Linked DNA regions of Homo sapiens: region 1 is linked to region 2. The links are contacts of gene promoters, found by promoter capture Hi-C in human tissues and cell types (Jung and others, 2019). All regions are on one chromosome and are shown on one strand. The core of a region is centred on a gene start or on the middle of the fragment in contact, and the rest is flanking DNA. Distances in the headings are between cores, read along the strand shown.

Evidence for each region. The method cuts DNA at HindIII sites, captures the fragments that hold promoters and counts their contacts. A contact is called where the count stands out against the background at its distance.
Region 1: a contact is called between a fragment that was not itself captured here and the fragment with the promoter of GML in region 2, in 1 of the 25 tissues and cell types used here (lymphoblastoid cells).

The regions. Positions count from the first base shown.
Region 1 is chr8:142,895,846-142,899,612 of GRCh38, forward strand. No RefSeq gene overlaps it. Among named protein-coding and RNA genes, the nearest start is that of CYP11B1, 18 kb to the left of the region's middle. The HindIII fragment of the contact is 4,037 bases long and covers 1-3,767 here.
Region 2 is chr8:142,832,556-142,836,439 of GRCh38, forward strand. GML (glycosylphosphatidylinositol anchored molecule like) reads left to right here and starts at 2,246. Exons shown (of 4, transcript NM_002066.3): 1 at 2,246-2,313. The HindIII fragment of the contact is 25,891 bases long and covers 1-3,771 here.

The DNA of each region.
Region 1 (3,767 bases), core at 559-3,058, 63 kb after region 2:
CACAGACAAAACTCCTCAGACACCGAGTTAAAGAAGAAAGAGGTTTATTCGGCCGGGAGCATCGGCAGGACTCCTGTCTCAAGAGCCAAGCTCCCTGAGTGAGCAATTCCTGTCCCTTTTAAGGGCTCACAACTCCAAGGGGGTCTGCGTGAGAGGGTCATGATTGATTGAGTAAACGGGGTAGGTGACAGGGTCTGCATGCACCGGTGGTCAGAGTGAAACAGAACAGACCGGGAAGTTTTACAATGTCTTTCTGTAATCTGTAGATAACAGCAGTTGCTAGGTCAGGGGTCGAATTTTAACTACCAGGCTTAGGTCAGGCCCAGGCTTGGTTTCGGTTCTGGTTTCTTGGATTTGGGTCTGGTTCCTAGGCGCCGGGGCACCTGCCTTTAGTTTGGCTTCTCTTTCCTTTTCAGAGTATAAAACAACATAAAACAATATGAGAAGGTCTGTCTCTCTTCTCTCATTCAGATTTTATATTTCTTCATAATGCAGCCTTGGTAGGTTGTGTGTGTCTAAGAATTTATCCTTTTCTTCTAGGTCATCTAATGTGTTGTTAATCAATAATTCATAGTAGAATCTTATAATGCTTTGTATTTCTGTGGTTTCAGTTACAATGTCTTTTCTTTCATTTCTGATTTTACTTCTGAGCCTTTACTTCTGATTTTACCCCAAGTCTTCTTTTTTTCTTATTTGGTATAGCTAGAGGATTGTTGATTTTGTTTATCTTTTCAAAAAACCAACTCTTAGTTTTGTTGATTTTTTGTATTGCTTTTGGAATCTTTATTTTGTTTACTTCTGCTCTGATCTTATTTCCTTCCCTCTGCTAACATTGGTTTTATTTTTTTCTTTATCTGGTTCCTTTGGGTGTAATGTTACATTGTTTATTTGAGATTTTTCTTCTTTTTTCATGCAGGCATTTGTTGCTGTAAACATCCCTCTTAGAACTGCTTTTACTGCATTACATATATTTTGCTCTACTGTGTTTCCATTTTCAGTTGTCTCAACATATTTTAAATTTTTTATTTAAATTTCTTCTTTGACCCATTGGTTGTTCATGTTGTTTAATTTTTATATATTTGTGAATTTTCTGTAATTCCTGCTGCTATTGATTTCTTAGTTTTATATTGTTGCCAGAAAAGATACTTGATACGATTTTAATTTTCTTAAATTTAAGACTTGTTCTTTCATCTAACATATTATCTATGTGGGAGGATGATCTGTGTGCACTTGAGAAGAAGGTGTACTGCGCTACTGTTGGATCGAATGTTTTGTATATTTCTGTTAGATTCATTTAGTCTAAAATGTATTCAATTCTGATTTATCCTTATTGATTTTATGTCTGGATGATCTGTTTATTGCTAAAAGTGTTGTATTGAAGTCCGGCCTAAGCCTCCCACAGTTCTGGGATTACAGGGGTGAGCCACCATGCCTGGCCTGATTCTATTTTTAAATAGCTTTATTGAGAAGTTATTCACATACCATATAATTCACCTACTGAAAGTATACAATTAAAGGTTGGTAGTATAGTCACAAATATGTACAACTATCACTACATCCAATTTTATTAATTTCTAAAATCGCCAAAGAAATCCAGGACTTCAGCAAAAATGCGGTGGGCAGCTCTAAATGTGTGACCCATCACAGTAACATTCAAAAAACAAGCAAAAACTGCACAAATTAACTTTGTCAGGGCTCTGGAAAATAATTATTTCTGGCCACCACATAAATGCTACATGAAGAAAGTGACAACTCTTACATTGTAGAGAAGCTTTCCTGTATCTTTACTTGCTCTGGCTTTGCCCACCCCAGATCAGTGGCTGTCTTTGAAGATGGCAGCTCAAGCTACCAGTGTGGGATGCTGGGGTCTGGAGACAGAAGGATCAGGGCAGCGCTTATTCCCCAAAATTGTCATTATTTGTTCTAACCTTTCTGTGGACTACCTGAGGAACTGATGCAAGGGCCTTGCCTTTGTTTTGCCTAACTTGGAATGTATTCAAGTGGAAAAGTAGCTATGGAAGACCCGCATCAAAAATATTGTAAGGCAGCTGAGTAACCTGATATCATCAAAGGCAAAAGATTCAACTTGAGGAAAGAAAAAAAAACTTTGTCAAAACACTAGAAGAAAAAGCTTGGAAGAGTGTTTCTTTGAGAAGCTAGAGGATTTGAAATGCCAACCTATGCTGGGAAATCTAGAAAACCACAAGCTCCTAGGGCAGGACAGATGCTAAGACAGTGTCTAATTATAATCCTCCTGGCTGTGTTTACAGGAGTGCCCCGAAAACAGGCCCAAACTGCAAAGACAAAGACAGTGTTGGCTGTGTTTACAGGAGTGCCCCGAAAACAGGCCCAAACTGCAAAGACAAAGACAGTGTTGGCTGTGTTTACAGGAGTGCCCTGGAAACAGGCCCAAACTGCAAAGACAAAGACAGTGTTGGCTGTGTTTACAGGAGTGCCCCGAAAACAGGCCCAAACTGCAAAGACAAAGACAGTGTTGGCTGTGTCTACAGGAGTGCCCCGAAAACAGGCCCAAACTGCAAAGACAAAGACAGTGTTGGCTGTGTCTACAGGAGTGCCCCGAAAACAGGCCCAAACTGCAAAGACAAAGACAGTGTTGGCTGTGTCTACAGGAGTGCCCCGAAAACAGGCCCAAACTGCAAAGACAAAGACAGTGTTGGCTGTGTCTACAGGAGTGCCCCGAAAACAGGCCCAAACTGCAAAGACAAAGACAGTGTTGGCTGTGTTTACAGGAGTGCCCCGAAAACAGGCCCAAACTGCAAAGACAAAGACAGTGTTGGCTGTGTTTACAGGAGTGCCCCGAAAACAGGCCCAAACTGCAAAGACAAAGACAGTGTGATTATTTTTCTTGTCTTTTTATTTTTCCCCTCTTTCTTTTCTTTTCTTTTTTTCTTTCTTTTCTTTTCCTCCTGGTGTTCAAGGAGAAAATCTCTCTCAAATTTGTCAAAACATCAGATTAATGCAAGCTAAAGAAATAGATTCCACTATTGCCTTATAATCCTTTGTATTTCTGTGATACAAATAAACAGTAGAAGACCTAGAGAAAACAAATAGAAAAATTATAGAAGTTGTCTTATTTATCAGTAATTGCTTTACATATAAATGGTTCAAACTCTCCATTGAAAAGGCAGAATGGATAAAAATTGTGATCCACTACATGCGGTCTTCAACAGATTCACATCATATCCAAAGATGCAAATAGGTTGAAAGTGAAAGGTAGAAAAATGGTATTTCATGGGAATAGTAACCAGGGAGCTTGGATGGCTATGCTAATATAAGACAAAATAGTCTTTATGTAAAAAAGTTACAAAAGACAAAGAAGGTCATTATATATTGATAAAAGAGTTGTGGCCGGGCACGGTGGCTCACGCCTGTAATCCCAGCACTTTGGGAGGCCGAGGCGGGTGAATCACGAGGTCAGGAGATCGAGACCATCCTGGCTAACACAGTGAAACCCCGTCTCTACTAAAAATACAAAAAAATTAGCCGGGCGTGGTGGCGGGCACCTGTAGTCCCAGCTACTTGGGAGGCTGAGGCAGGAGAATGGCGTGAACCCGGGAGGCAGAGCTTGCAGTGAGCCGAGATCACGCCACTGCACTCCAGCCTGGGTGACAGAGCGAGACTCCGTCTCAAAAAAAAAAAAAAAAAAAAAAAAGAGTTCTGATGGTTAATTTTATATGTCATTAACTAAGCTATGGTATAGTTTTTGGTCAAACACTAGTCTGGATTTTGGTGGAAAGGCATTTTTA
Region 2 (3,884 bases), core at 996-3,495:
CATGAGTCATCCTCACCCTGGGAAGCGAACAGAAACCATCACTGGAGGGGGACATACCCTCCACTCAGACCCCCAGCCTCTGGTTTACTAATGACAAATACAGATATGCCACAGATAACCAGAGGCACAGAAGTGATTAAGCCCCCAGGAGCAAAGGCAGAAGAAACAAAGTCTCCAAGTTAGACTCCCAAGGAATTCCCATATAGGAATGATTGGAGGCAAATGTAAACATACAGCCTTGAAAAGTCAGGAAAAAATCAGGTCACTTCCACTTCTACATGGGATGCAGTAGGTTGTGGCTGCTCAGAATGTGACAACCGGGCAAATCAATCCACAGAGTTAAAAGTCACATTTGAAAGGCCCTTGGACAGATGTGGAAGCACCAAGGCCTGCATGAACTGAAATTCCGCAGAGGGCGAGCCCTTCCCAGGGTACCCTTTGTCATTGCAGATACATTTGTCACTTTGGGCACCAGCTGAAAGCCAGGCTGGCTACAGACAGGGACTCCGGTAGGGAATGCAAACCAGAGTGCCGTCTTGGCTCACGGGGAACCAAAGTGGCCCAGAATCTCCAGGTACCTAAAGATCAAGACAGTTTTCCCATGGAAGAGCCTCCAAGTGCTGTGGTGGGAGGGACCCTGGGGAGTCAGAGAAGGCCAAGTAGAATCCCCCCCAGTGTGGCAGATCCCAGGAGACAGAGTGCCCCTAGAAGGAGCCTGCCACAGTCATACCACTGGTCTCCATCATAAGCCAGTGGCCCCGATGGAACAGGTGTGTGGGATGAGGTTCAAGGGGAAAGTCAAAGCCTAGAAAGGGAAACCCGTCCGAGCTGAGGATTCGGTGTGAAAGGTGAGCATACAAATTGGGTCACCCTTGTCACACCCAACTAAGGCAGAGTGCCAGGTAGGGAGACCATTCAGCACTCAGGATAGAAAACATTGCTCCAAGAATGTACTTCTCTGAGGCCTGACTGCTGAAACTGTCTGCGGTAACCTGAAACCAGTTTTATCTGATGGCTACTGAGACCACCTGCTGCAACTCTAAGCCTCGGTTCACCCACTGCCGTCACTGATTCACTCATCAACCAGAGCTTGCCAGCTCCCCAAAATCCTACTAGTGCCAATGAAACTCAGACAGCAATATGTACTATTTCTCTTCTTTATAAAAAAGAGACATAGTTCCTTTTTTTTTGAGACAGAGACTTGATTTGTCCTGCAGGTTGGAGCACAATGGCACGATCTCGGCTCACTACAACCTCCACCTCCTGGGATCAAGGGATTCTCCTGCCTCAGCCTCCTGAGTAGCTGGGACTACAGGCACACACCACCACACCCAGCTAATTTTTGTATTTTTAGTAGAGACGGGGTTTCACCATGTTGATCACTCTGGTCTTGAACTCCTGACCTCAAATGATCTGCCCGCCTCAGCCTCCCAAAATGCTGGGATTACAGGTGTAAGCCACCGCGAATTTAAAAAAGCCTTTTCTTTGTTCTTTGGACATACTGAAGGCCAGCCAGTCTGCCCCCGTGCCCCTAATTGCAGTTATTTCCTCCCAAATAAAACATTTCAATTTCAGAAATTCACCTATTTTATATGACTTCGACAAGAGCCAAGCCACACTGTGTAGGAGATGCTCGGGTGAAGCCAGCTGTCCCTGGCCACACACAGCTTGAAGGCAAAATGGCAGGAGCTCAAGCGAAAGCCAGGCAGGTCTCCCCCTGAAACCTCTGCACAGGTGGGCGCTGGCGGGGCTGAAGGGCAAGGGCACCGCTCAAGCTGGCTTTGGTCAGGGTTAGGGACAGGGCCGGCTCCAGAGGCGACGGGGTCGCACCCTGAGCGGAGGGGCTCCCGGGGTCCCCAGGGGTTATGGTGATGGCGGGACCCCCTAGAGGGAGGGTCCAGGAACGAGGCAGGTGGACTGGGACCTTGAGGGCAGGGTGGGCCTGGGCGGTGCCAACAGGCTGCCGAGGGTGGCTGCTGTCCCGTTTCTCCAGCAGCCAGGGCCGTGCGCTTCTAGAACATTCCCCGTGGCTTTCCTAAAGGGAGCGTGGATGGAGCCAGGGTGTGCAGATTTCTGTGAGAAATATTTTCACCTGGGAGCCCCAAGGGGGACCCTGCCCACCTTTGAACACTGGCAGATGGGCTGGAGGCCTGGAGCCTGGGGACGGGGCTTTGAGGGTCCGGAAGGAGGGCGGGGCTGTGCGGCCGGCGGAGGCCCCCGAAAGTTCCAGAAAGCGGGTGGGGAGGTCGGCGCGGGAGGCTCAGATGGCTGGAGGCGGCGGGCACGCACACTGCGGGGCTCCGAGGGGCACAGGTCAGTTTCCTGAGGCGGGTCGGGACCCAGGCGTGAGACTGGAGTCTGCCCAGGGGCCCAGCTGAGGCAGCCTCCTCGTCAGCTGCTTGGGCCGCCAGGACGCCGCCGGGGGTGCGCCGCGCTTCCCTGGATGGGGTGCCCCCACTCCCCTCGGAGCCCCAGGGAGACCCCCCGAACTCAGCTCCTCTCAGGGGTGCCAGGGGGACCCCTCAAAACTCCACTCCCCGCAGGTTCCTGGGGAGACGCCCCCTGCTCCATTCCCCTCAGGGTCCCAGGGAGACCCCCTAATTCAGCTCCTCTCAGGGGTACTGGGGGACCTCTCGAGCTCCACTCCCATCAGGGTCCCAGGGAGACCCCCCAACTATGCTCAGGGGTCCCAGGGAGATGCCAGCACCCCAACTCCGCTTCCCTGGGGCCCCCCTCCCCTTACAGCTCAACTTCCCTCGAGAGTCTGGGGCTGGGGCTCCGTTCAGTTCTTGAGTCCCCTTCCCTCGGGGTGTCCCGGGGCCGCCCACCCCCACACTGTCTGTGATTCCCCAAGGCGCGGGTCTCGGGCCGCAGCCTGTTCCACGTTCTGCTGCTCGTTCTTTTCTGGCTCCTTGCTTTCGAAGGAGAGAAGGAGGCCTTCGTTTCCAGTCTTTTTGCCTTTTCTAATGGAGCCCTGCTTTTCCTTCCGTGTCCCTTCAGGCTACTTCTGCCAGGTTTCTATTTTTCATTCTTTATTATGACTTTGCCCAAAATATTCTTGACTTCTATTGAGAAGGATTTGGGGGTCTATTTCTTATTTGGAGGTGTGTTCTTAAGTTCCAAACAGATGAGGATTTTCCAGTTAATCCTTCTGGGGTGACTTATTGCTTAATGCCACCATAGTCAGAAAATGGACTCTCAGTGTCCGAAACTGCATTCGGCTCTGAAGTGTCTGTCCTTGTCACCTCTTGCAATGTTTTTTGCCTGGAAGCCTGCACTCGCCGACGCTGACGTAACTGTTTCTGCCTTTCAGTTCTACAGCCTCCTTTGCTTTGTGATATTGTCATATACTTTATTTCTATATATGTTATGAACTCAATATTTCTTGTAGTGGGTCTGCTGATAATAAGATATTCCTACTCTTTTTGTCTGAAGCCATCTTAAGCTTACCCTGTATTTGCCCCATGCATCTCTTCCGTTTCACGGTTCCTGAGTTGTCACCTTTGTGATAAACTGGTAATAGTAAGTAAACTGTTTTCTTGTGCTCTGTAAGCTGTTCTAGCAAATTATCTAGGAGGAGGTGGTCTTGGAAACCCTTGATTTATAACTGGGCAGTCAGAAGTACACGTGGCCCAGACTTGTGATTGGCATCTGAAGTGGGGGCATTAGGGTGGGACTGAGCCCTTCACCTGTGGGGTCTGCCCTGCTCAAGGCAGTGTCAGAATTGAATTGAAATGTTGGACGGTCAGTGTCCAGAGAGTTGGAGAACTGGTTTGTGTGTAAAAACTCACATATTTAGGGTCAGAAGTATGGTGGTGTAGAAATAATTCATACTATAGTCCCTTATTTCTGCCTCTTACACATCCTGTTATTTTTAAAATTTT